4 separate regions of the Homo sapiens genome follow, and all the other regions are linked to region 2. The links are contacts of gene promoters, found by promoter capture Hi-C in blood cells and fetal thymus (Javierre and others, 2016). All regions are on one chromosome and are shown on one strand. Each heading gives the region's core, a stretch centred on a gene start or on the middle of the fragment in contact. The rest is flanking DNA. Distances are from core to core; before and after follow the strand shown.

Evidence for each region. The method cuts DNA at HindIII sites, captures the fragments that hold promoters and counts their contacts. A CHiCAGO score of 5 or more calls a contact.
Region 1: a fragment that was not itself captured here is called in contact with the fragment with the promoter of UFM1 in region 2 in 1 of 17 cell types (total CD8 T cells); the score reaches 6.9 in total CD8 T cells.
Region 3: a fragment that was not itself captured here is called in contact with the fragment with the promoter of UFM1 in region 2 in 4 of 17 cell types (non-activated CD4 T cells, total CD4 T cells, total CD8 T cells and 1 more); the score reaches 8.2 in non-activated CD4 T cells.
Region 4: a contact is called between the fragment with the promoter of AKAP11 here and the fragment with the promoter of UFM1 in region 2, in 6 of 17 cell types (total B cells, non-activated CD4 T cells, monocytes and 3 more). The highest score is 12.5, in total B cells.

The regions. Positions count from the first base shown.
Region 1 is chr13:33,538,553-33,541,259 of GRCh38, forward strand. It overlaps a transcript of STARD13 not described here. Among named protein-coding and RNA genes, the nearest start is that of LINC02344, 200 kb to the left of the region's middle. The HindIII fragment of the contact is 6,829 bases long and covers 1-2,707 here.
Region 2 is chr13:38,348,416-38,351,115 of GRCh38, forward strand. UFM1 (ubiquitin fold modifier 1) reads left to right here and starts at 1,436. Exons shown (of 6, transcript NM_016617.4): 1 at 1,436-1,506; 2 at 1,584-1,640. The coding sequence starts at 1,505. RefSeq lists silencers at 966-1,075, 1,773-1,987 and an enhancer at 1,186-1,395. The HindIII fragment of the contact is 2,541 bases long and covers 1,014-2,700 here.
Region 3 is chr13:33,815,871-33,818,845 of GRCh38, forward strand. It overlaps RFC3 (replication factor C subunit 3), which reads left to right and starts at 2,279. Exons shown (of 9, transcript NM_002915.4): 1 at 2,279-2,395. The coding sequence starts at 2,309. The HindIII fragment of the contact is 752 bases long and covers 1,082-1,833 here.
Region 4 is chr13:42,270,779-42,273,583 of GRCh38, forward strand. AKAP11 (A-kinase anchoring protein 11) reads left to right here and starts at 1,374. Exons shown (of 13, transcript NM_016248.4): 1 at 1,374-1,450. RefSeq lists an enhancer at 564-743 and a silencer at 1,284-1,633. The HindIII fragment of the contact is 2,900 bases long and covers 560-2,805 here.

The sequences.
Region 1 (2,707 bases), core at 26-2,525, 4.8 Mb before region 2:
CCTTAGCCTAGCTTCCTAATAGAAGCAAAAGTAAATCCTACAAATACTTCCATAAAGTAAAAAACACCACTCAGAGCCCAGTATTTTTTTTTTTTTCATAAACAAAGACAACATTTCATAAAGAATTTCTGGGCATACCAGGAAACAGAAGAAAAAGATAATGGAAACAAGATCCACAGATGATCCAAATACTGGAGTTAATGGGCACAAACTATTTAATTTTTTTTTTTTTTTTGAGACGGAGTCTGGCTCTGTGACCCAGGCTGGAGTGCAGTGTTATAATCTCGGCTCACTGCAAGCTCCGCCTCCCGGGTTCACACCATTCTCCTGCCTCAGCCTCCTGAGTAGCTGGGACTACAGGTGCCTGCCACCATGCCGGACTAATTTTTTGTATATTTAGTAGAGACGGGGTTTCACCGTGTTTGCCAGGATGGTCTCAATCTCCTGACCTTGTGATCCGCCCACCTCTGCCTCCCAAAGTGCTGGGATTATAGGCGTGAGCCACTGCGCCCGGCCTTGCATTTATTAATACTAGAGACGTAGAATCTATGCATAAGAAAATTCTAGAACTAAAATAAAATGATTCAACAACTGAAAACTTAAACTAAAAAAATACACTTAGAATAAAAACCATGAAATGTGTTGGAAGAAACTTAACAATGTATGTGCAATACCTGTATGCTGAAAATTACAAACAGAAATTAAAGATCAAAATAAAAGGAGATATATGCCATGTTCATAGATTGGAAAACTCAGTATTTTTAAGATGTCAGTTCTCTCCAAGCTGATGAATAAATTTAACAGAATCCCATTCAAAATCCCAGCAGATGTTTTTAGAAATTGAAATGACAATTTAAAAATTTATATTAAAATGCAAAGGACTTAGAATGGCCAAAGTAATTTTGAGGAAAAAAATACTTCCACTATCTGATTTCAAGACGTATAAAGCTACAGTAATCAATACAGTGTGGGACTGGGTTAAGAACAGACATATTTATCAATGAAATTGAATAGAATAGAAATTCAGAAGATCGGCAGATTTTTAATAAAGGTGCCAAGGTAATTCAATGAAGGATAATCTTTTTAACGAATGCTACCAGAATAACAGGATTTCTATTTTGAAAAATATGACTATCAACCATTATTGTGCCATACTAAAAATTAAGTGGATCGTAAACATAAATAAGATATATTGTGAATCTCAGAAATGAGAGGATTTTATGAACAGCTTTATGCTAATGAATATTTGGATACGTACAAATCCCTACAAATATACAACTTACAAACAAAAGCTGCTCTTTAAAAGACACTTTTAAGAAAATGAAAAAGCAGGCCACAGACTGGGAGAAAAATATTCACAACATATACTTCTGACAAAAAAGTCATACGCATAGTATGTAAATAACTCCTACAACTCAATTACAAACAACTTAGTTTTAAAATGGGCAAAAGTTTTGAACATATACCCACTTAATGGCTAAAACTAAAAACTAAAAATAGCAAGTGTTGGCATTTGATAAAAAGACCTGTCACCCTTTTAAACTATAGTAGTTCCCCCTTAGCTTCAGGGGAAATGTTCCAAGAACCTAGTGGATGCCTGAACCTCAGAGAGTACCCTACCCTAAATATATTATGCACGAATTTCTTTTTCTTTCTTCATAATTTCACAGATAGAAGACTGATTCTTACCAACCACTTGGTTCCTAGTGACCTTAGGTGATTCCTTAAGTCGAGAACTTTCACCTTCCACTTAAAGGAAGCACATTAAGGCTTCTTTTGGCATATCCAAATTGCCAGTATCACTACTATTGGGCCTTGGAGACATTATTAAGGAAAATATAGGTTATTTGAATCCAAGCTCAGTGATATGGTGATAGTTGATAACTGTGATAGTGGATGCTGAACAAAGGGAGGATACACGTTCTGGGAGGCACAGAGAGAGGCAGCATGAGATTTCATCACACTACTTAGAACTTCTAGCAATTTAAAATTTATATTTCTGAAATTTTCCATTAAATATTTTTGGACCTCGGTTGACAGTTGGTAACTGAAACTATGGAAAGCAATACCATGTATAAAGGGGGTTCCTATACAAGGATGTTTGATGAGTGCAGACACAAATAGATTCGATGGTGGGAATACACAAAAATTCTTGGCTTATGCTCACAATTCTTTTTTCAATAAAGTGTGAGGCAAAGTCATTAGTTGAGGAAGTTGATAATTTGAGGAAGGAAAAGAATGAGATATTTGGATTACAGAAGGAAAGGGCAAAGTCAGTAAAGCAAAGGAGTAGGAGAGCTGATCAATATGCAGAGCCAATTTAGGTGTGAGATCACACTAGTCCACCCAACAGTTAACAGGCTGAGCCCAAGCTCAGAAAAGATAAATGCATGCAGGAGTTCATCCATGGTTTGAGTTTTGCCAGGGAAGTGCTAAAAGTGAGGGATAAGAGTTGAGGATATTTGCAAAGGAGTCAATGCCACTATTTCTGAATATATGTGTACTCTTTGAACTGTGAAGGGCTATGTTACTGTAACTTTATAGTATAATGGTAGCAAAATGAAGCAATCCCTCAATTTAAGGTTGGTTATATACGATGTAGAGAAAGATGGGAAAGTCGAAAAAAAAAAGTAAGCAACTAAATGGGATATAGCCAAAGCTGAAGTATGCAATGATGAAATAAACTGATTCCATATTCCACACATTT
Region 2 (2,700 bases), core at 186-2,685:
TAGGTAGACACAATCACAGTTTTATCCTTATTACTATTCTCACAAGTTTTAGTCACACCCACTAATTGAATAGTTTCAGCTATTAAGGCTGTAACTGTTGATCCCTGTATCTGTCAATCAATATTTGGCTTCATCTACATATATGGTAAGACCATTATTTTAAAAAGTGAGGATGGCTGTCATGAGAATGTTGGAGTCTTACTTGCCTACTCAGAACCAGAACTCTCTCCACTGGGAAATGTCACCATAGAAGATCAGTTGGCTGCAAAATTATTGTAAAGATGAATTTGATCTCCATTATCCCTACTACAGTTCCTTCCTGGTTCCTCTCTTAAGTATCTCTCCTTAAGAATCTGATGCATATTCTAAAGATCAACTAGATTGCCCCATTATTTTAATGCCTACCTGCTTCCTCCTTTGTCTATTCATGCTAATGTTTTAAAAGGGCATTTCAGTCATTGTGAGACAGACGCATATTTTCCAAACACAGAGGTTTAGATCTGTAATAAAGTTTAGAGGACAATTTTCTTCCGTCATCACTACACAGGATGTTAGATCCTAGAGAGTTGACGCCTACCTGCCTTACTCATCTTGGATTCCCCAGAGTTTAGCTTAGCGCCGGGCAAATAGAAAGGGTTCAAAGTTGGTTGTTAAATTGAATAAATGTGGTCAGTGATTAGCAACTCAGCGCACTGGTTTAATTAGACCATATAACAAATTACTGAAATCTCCTGTTCATAGATGTGTCTTCCCAACTAGACGCCACGTTCCCCAAACGTAGAAACCTCATTTTTTCTCACCCACCCCAGCGGGAGTCTTGGCATAGATAATTCGTACTTGATAGCTCTCTTACTTAACCGAAATTCAATAGTTATAAATCAGTATCGGAAAGTAAAGCGTGAAGGAGAAACTATGAGAAATGTAAAGGATATAACAGGATTGGTTTGCTGGAAAGACGGAAGAAAACTAATGATAAAGCAGTGTTACAATTCCTGCTTCTGGAGCACCAATTAAGCTTTTCCGCGCTCAGGTTGCCTTAGAAACTTTAGAGCGCGTCCGCCCCAGCCCCGCCCCCGGCCTCGCCCCGAGCTTCGCCCCAAGTCCATCTCGCTCTTCATCCGACTACCCCATACCCTTACTTCCGCCCCAACCTGCCAACTGGAACCTAGGGTCCTACGCTCTATGCCCACGCTTATTCTGCCTGACTAAAAATATGGTAGCAAATTACCAAAGTTAGAAAGATATCTTATAAATATAATCCATACTTTTTTCTTAGATATATAAACGCAAAAGCACAAGATATTTGTAATTTAAAAGCGCCATCTAGCATGAGCTCTTAGGGCCAATTTTCAGGCAGTGCGTTGGATAGCAACAACTTCGGAGGTCCCCAGATTGCAGAGGGAGACGTGGACGTGAGTGGAGCGGGGCGGTCCCCAGCACACTAGAGGAAGTCGTGCTACCCCCGCGGAGTTGTCGTGTGTTCTGGATTCATTCCGGCACCACCATGTAAGTGTTTGCTTACCGACTGCCATAATTCCTGGTCCAGCTGCCCGACCCTGACTCTCTCCCGCTCTTTTCCTCAGGTCGAAGGTTTCCTTTAAGATCACGCTGACGTCGGACCCACGGCTGCCGTACAAAGTGTGAGTAGCTCGGCCGAGATGGGCCTTTTGGGGCCGGACAAGACGGGGCTGGGTTGGGGATGATCCGAGCTTTTCCAACAACTACCCCACGCAGTCTTCATCTCTTCACTTCATCTACTTTCCTGGCTCGCGCCCTTCCAGGAGCCTTTCCCACCGGAGCCTGCGAGGAGAGGTCCGTACTTGCTCGCTAAGTGTCAGCTTGGCAGCTTGGCCCCGTCACGAGGGTGTGGGTGTGTTTCTGATTAGTGACCTCCCCTCGGAATTCATTTGGTGGGCAGGTGGCGCGGGAGGACAGGTGGACCAGGTTCTGGTAATTTGTTGGGATTCTTAAACAGTCCCCATCTGCTGGATATTAGAAAAGCGTTTCACCGCTTTGGCCAGCTGGTTGAGGAAGTTAAGGAAGACATTCCATCTTGATAGTCAAGACTTTGAAATTACTTGAACATTTGTTATTCCGCGGCTTCTGAGTTTCGTTGTGTATGAGTAACTCAGCAGTCGGGCATCACAAAGTAATGAGACTCAGATCACACCCTTCCTATGCTGGGATTTAATAGAGTATTTGGTAGGAATGGGAAATGCAGATAGGGGATAGTTTATCCATGTGGGGCCTTTACTTATCCTTCGCAGTTGAGTGATAGATTTTAAGTAAACACTCTTGAGGTTATTGCAGTTGGAAGTAGCATGAAATGTAGCAAAGAACAGGATTACAATAGAATTTTTTGCATAATTAATTAGTACCTTGGCCTACCTAGCTGACTGATAAATTTCAATGATTTACCAATCCATGATCCGTACAACCTCTCAGCCTTTTCCTCCCTTGATCTTTTCATCTCCAAAATATCCCTGTTACACTTTATCTCAGGTGTTCATGGTTGCAGCCTAGAACCTTAAGATTCCAATAATTGCTCCATCTCTGAGATGTCGTTTACAGGCACTCTTATGGATAAATACATTCTCTCCTACATGATTTACTATAATTTCTCATCTACAACGTTTCATTTAATCCATTAATCACAGTGATTTTTTATCTGTAGCTATCCCCACTTCTATTCCTTACCTT
Region 3 (2,975 bases), core at 208-2,707, 4.5 Mb before region 2:
AATCTTTTTGCATTGCTCATGGGAATGTAAAGTGGTGCAGCCACTGTGGAAAACGGTATGGCAGTTACTCAAAAAATTAAACTTACAATTACTATATGATTGCCGGGCGTGGTGGCTCGCTACTGTAATCCCAGCACTTTGGGAGGCCGAGGCAGCTGGCTTGCCTGAGCTCAGGAGTTCGAGACCAGCCTGGTCAACATGGTAAAACCCTGTCTCTACTAAAAATACAAAAAATTAGCTGGGCGTGGTGGTGCACAACTGTAACCCTAGCTACATGGGAGGCTGAGGTGGGAGGATCGCTTGAACCCAGGAGGTGGAGGTTGCAGTGAGCCGAGATCGCATCACTGCACTCCAGCCTGGGAGACAGACTGGGACTCCATCTCAAGAAAAAAAAAAAGAGCTAAGATACCTGAGGGCCAGAGTCATTAAACATTAAAGTGATTGCAGCTGTAGTTTACCAACCCCGAGGACTTTACTTCCTCTGTAGCAATTTCTCATATCCTATATATTCAAGAGTCTGGAGTAAAATTGCTAGATAAATACAGGGCCCTGGTTACATTTGAATTTCAGATAAAGGCTGATTTTTTTTCTCATATAAGTATGTCCCTGGCAATATTTATTACAATTTCAAATATTGCCAGGGACATACTTATATGAGAAAAAAAATCATTTGTAATAAATTTTGCCATAGACATATGAAAAAGCTTCTGAAATTCAAATTTAACTGGACTTCCTGGGTCACCACACTATTTCTCCTTCCTCAGAACCCCCAACAATATTGAAGCACATGTCTTCATGTGCTTCAATGGTAGAGACATGTCTTCACGGTAGAGACCATCAACCACTGCTCCTTATTGAAGTTGTCTGTCATGCCTGTGGTCACTCTTGCCAAATTATTGATCATTCTAGCACTTGGTTCTTCTCTTTATTCCTCTCAGTACTTATTTCCATTATCATTCATTATGATTATGATATACACATAGACCACAATTCAGTATCCCTGCTTCTGATTTCCTTTACCTTCTCATTTCAAACACTTCCTCCATTTCAATTCCAAAGGAGAGAAGCATAAAGAAGATGAAGCTTTTTTGCAATATTAAATAGGGTGGTCAGGGAAGCCTCAGTGAGGAGATAATACTTGAGCCAACATCCTGAAGGAAATGAGGGACCCAACTCTGCTGACTGGAGAAACATAGTCCAGGAAGAGGAAACAGTAATTGCAAAGGCCCTGAGGCAGAAGCCTTCCAGGCTTATTATAGAAAGTTTCTCGAGAACAGGGATTAAATCTTATACTTGGTGGTGTGGATAATACCTTACCTGCAGGAGTAATTCATGTAATATGACGATTCATAGAAGAACATGATAAATTATTGATTAATAAATGAGTAAGAGGCACCTTGGTGAAAGGTTATTAAGTATATTTGGAAATCATTTCCTGCCTGTAAGACCTTGCAATCAAATGGCAGGACTTAGGGTTCTTAATAATACATAAAATAAAAGCATAAATTAAATAAGGAATTAATATTATGTACAATGAGTAAAGTGCATTTTGAGAGGCACTATTTGAAGAGAACTTCAAAAGTTGCATATCAACTTCATATGCAGAATATTTTTCTGAGGGGTTCAGATGCTTCTACACATTTTAATTGGAGGGCTTTCAAATATTCTAGACTTAGAATGCATATTAACCTCGTGTCTTCTCCCCTACAGACCACATTTGGGTAGTTTTTCCATGCTCTTGATTCTTTTGTTTCTAATCCAATAAGAATATTGAGGAATAGAGGTAACAAAGGATAGTGAAGATCAGACATTTTCAAGCGATTCATCCAATGAAGCTTTACTGGGTACCTGCCAAGTGAGTGAAACCCTGAGATGTATATATTCTAGTGCCGAGGACAGAGTTCCACACCTAGCAGATATTTAGTAAATTTTTGTTGAATGAATTAAGTGAATGAAAGAATGAATAAATGAAAGGAACGGTCTTCTCTGAGGTATCTGGATGTGACGCCAAAAGGGTCAGAACCACATTTTCAATTCCGCTTGATAATTTCTAGAATATAATAGACGGTGCGAACAAAGAGAAAATAAATAAAGCAGTGAACTTCAGAACTAGAGGGCATCGACGCGGCAGCTGATTTTGTCTGCACACGGCCCCCGTAGCCTTTCCGTCCAAAATCATTTACGCGGCCGCGACCGGTAGTGACGTCACGAGATTTGGAGCTCGCGGGAAAACTTGTCTCTGCGTTGTGGGGAGGACGCGCGCTCGCGCGGGATTTTCAAGCGTAGGCCCCCGGGAACTCGAGCTGCCATGAGCCTCTGGGTGGACAAGTATCGGCCCTGCTCCTTGGGACGGCTGGACTATCACAAGGAGCAGGCGGCCCAGCTGCGGAACCTGGTGAGTCTGCGGGGGCCGGGAGCGTGGGAGAGGGGAGGCCCCCCGGCTCGGGGTTTCGCGCCCCCCTGAGGAGCAGTGCTTCTCCCGCCCGCATTGGAAGGTGATAAGTGCTATGGAGAAAAATAACACAGGGAAGGGGGAAGAGGTGTGGGAGGCTGGCTTGTATTTTTAAACAAGAAAAGCTCCACTGAGAAGTGGCATCTGAGCCGAGACTTGAAGGAAATTGAAAAGTCATAAATACAGAAATCCGAGCAAAGAGTGGAACAGGTAAGAGGGGACAGCAAGTGCAAAATTCCCGGGCAGGGATGTGCACGGCATGTTCTAAGAACCTCAGGAGGCCGGCGTAGCCGATAGTGGTGAACCAGCGGGAAGGGTAATCGGAGATGGGTGTATGTGTTGGGATGGAGTTGGAGTGCAGACCCAGTCAGTCTCAGAATAAGACGAGAAGCCGTTGGAGCATTTTGAGCGGAGATGACACCATGTGATTTACTTTCTAGCTGGCTTAAGATTTCTCGATGTCATTGTCATTTACAAGTAAAGTGTTGTAAATATGTATTTACTCCAAAGATCGTTTCTAATT
Region 4 (2,805 bases), core at 124-2,623, 3.9 Mb after region 2:
CTTCTTCCCTCAAATGCACTAGAATAGATCCTTACTTAGGGCCTTTGAATTAGTGTTATCCTTTTCCTGGAATGCTCTATGCTCTGATTTTTGCGTCTGTTATTCAAATCGCTGCTAAAATATCTCCTCCTTAAAAGGGCATCCCCTTTACTAGCCACTCAGTCACCATCACCATCACGTCACTTATTGTAACTTCTTTGCATACAGCTTAAAACCAACAGATTTTTTTTCTTTTCACCCTCAGATAAGTTCCCTAGAATCTACACTACTTGTCTTCATCATTGTTCAATCAACAGCCTAGAGTAGTGTTTGTTGAATGAAGAAATGAACAAACGAATGCACCCTTTCTTCCGTGACCCTCTCCTCTGAACAGGGCAAAACTTAACTCATAACGAGGATACACTCAAAAATGTCTTTCTTATTGCCAGGTGTTTCCACTCTTGAGGAACAGATGCCCTTTAGGAGACAGGGCAATTTGACTGGACTGGCCCTTCCGATTTTAGGTGAAAATAATCACCATAACAGCTTTTCATCTCTGGCTAGGCTTCCCAGTGACCAAAGCTTTACTTTCCGATTTCCATACCACGTAAAGACATCAGGGTGAGCACTAGGGCCCTGAGAACCCTGGAAGCTACTTCTTGGCTGGGATAGGGCTGGTTGCCCGGTGCGCTGTGAGTGGTCCTCCCCGGAGATGCTGGGAGAAGGGGCGGAGCCATCAGAAAGGATGAGCCTTCCTTGGGCCTTCGGATCTGGTGGGGCTGCCACTTTGGGAAGGGCCCCGGGCTTCGGAAGAAAGCAAAACTAGCCTTGTGGCGAAGAAGGAGCCCAGCTGGCCCCAGGCTGTTAAGACTAAGGGGTCGAGGGAAAAGAGGCAGAGCCTGAAACCAAATCTGCGGAGCAAGCCAAGGCCTGGGGACTTGCCAGAGGGAAGGGTTAAGCCGTTTCCAAGGCAACGGACCAGGAAGCGCGCAAGACGTCCGCCGCAGGTTCGTAGGTCGCCCTCGAATTTAAAGCTCCCAAGGCTGAGTGGGTCCCGGCCAATGGAGAGGCCCCCTTTAAGTCATGTGACCAGCGGGGCTGCCCCGCGGGCTGCTCCGCGGGCTGCACTGGAGCACGTGGGAAGGCTTTTTTTCCTGTTCCTTCTTTCCCTTTTTAAACGCCCACCCACTTTTGCGCGGGCTCGGCCGCGGAATTTTTCTCGCGAGAGGCGCGCTGCCCTCTCGCGAGAGAGAGTGGGAGGCGTGGAGAGTAGGCGGTGTTGCGGGCCGGAGCTGCGGCGGCGGCGGCGGCGGCGGAAGCCGAGGGGTGGGCAGGGCGGGGGCGGGCCGCGGGGCTGGGAGGGGGAGGGCTGGGGGTCAGCGCGGGAGGGGGCCAGCTTGCTTGCCCGGCTCGCTCACGGGTCGTTGAGGCCGGTGACATGTCTGTGAGCTGCGGAGGCTGCGGCCCCCAGGTGAGCCGGGCGCCGACGTGCTCGCCGCGGAGGCTGCGTTTAGATGGGGTGGCGGCGGGTGTGCGGCCGGCATGGATGGAGCGGCCCGGCTCCGGCGCTCCAGCCCCTCCGCCTGCCGCTGGTCCCCCTTCTGGCTTCGGGGCCGCCCGAGAGCTGCGCCTTCGCATGGCGGAGGGAGGAGGGCGGGAGGAGCGCGGCCGAAGGAGGAAACTCACCGCACCGGGCCCAGAGTAGAGGGAGGTGCTGGGTCTCGAGACGCGTCTTCCTGGGGTCCCAAGTGTGGCGGTGGAGCTGCCGCCCCTTTTAATGACAGGCTGTTTCCATCCCCGGGGTGGTCTTCAGAGACGGCCCCCCGGGTGCGTGGTGCGCGTGCTTAGTGTGTGTTCGTGGTGTGCGCACAGGAACATTTGCAGCGGTTGGGAGGACGTTGCACTTTGTTCCCGAACAGCATCCTTCACTGTCAGACCCCCGGAGCCTTGGAAGCAGGCGCTGCTCAGATCTTGTAAACGGAAGGCGTCAAGGGGCTCCTCAGAGTATTGATATTTGGATTTGCTGTCAAATACTCTCCTAGGCTGTTAATGGCTTAAGGCTGGCCATAAAGTACCCCGAATGGATTGAGTATACTGCTGTTAATCCAGGCATCTAAGCTGCTTTATAAAAAATATGTAGATGTAACCGAAGTATTAAAAAGTGACAATGACAGTAAAAGCTAACATTTTTTCTCTTCCCCATATTACCAGCTTTCATTTTTTTTCTCTGCTTTGTCTGTCTTCTAAAACCATATAAAGTTGGATGTGGTTTAGCTTTAGATGTTAAGGAGTTTCATGGTGAGAAAGACTGCTGAGATACATACCTAATAGCTTTAGTACAAACTGGAGTTAATTCCTGTTCTCTTTTCAGCTTTTCAATCGCTTGCAAAATGCTCGTTTTGCTTAGCTGCTTCCCACTGTTTTAGAAATGTCATGTCGATTGTTATTTTGTTATGTCTGAAAATACTCAAAATATGGAGTACTAAGAAAAAATGGGGTATCAGTAATGCACAGATATATTTTTTTTAATGTCATCATTTTAGGATGGCAGCCCAGTGCCTGGCATGATTGGTGTCAGTTAAAATAGTGCAATTGAATGATTTTTTTTTTTTTTGAAAAACACATTTACTTTTTCAAACGGTACCCTGATTATTCATTTTTTCTTGTCGTTGTTCCTCCTGACAAAACTGACCCAGGGGTGGACAGTGAATGTCACTATTGTAGCTGTAACAGTAATTTATGAAAGGTCAAAGAATGTAAGGAAATCAGGGAAGAAGTGGGTTCCCAAGCTGAGCTAGAGACTAATGTATGTACCCACATAACTGC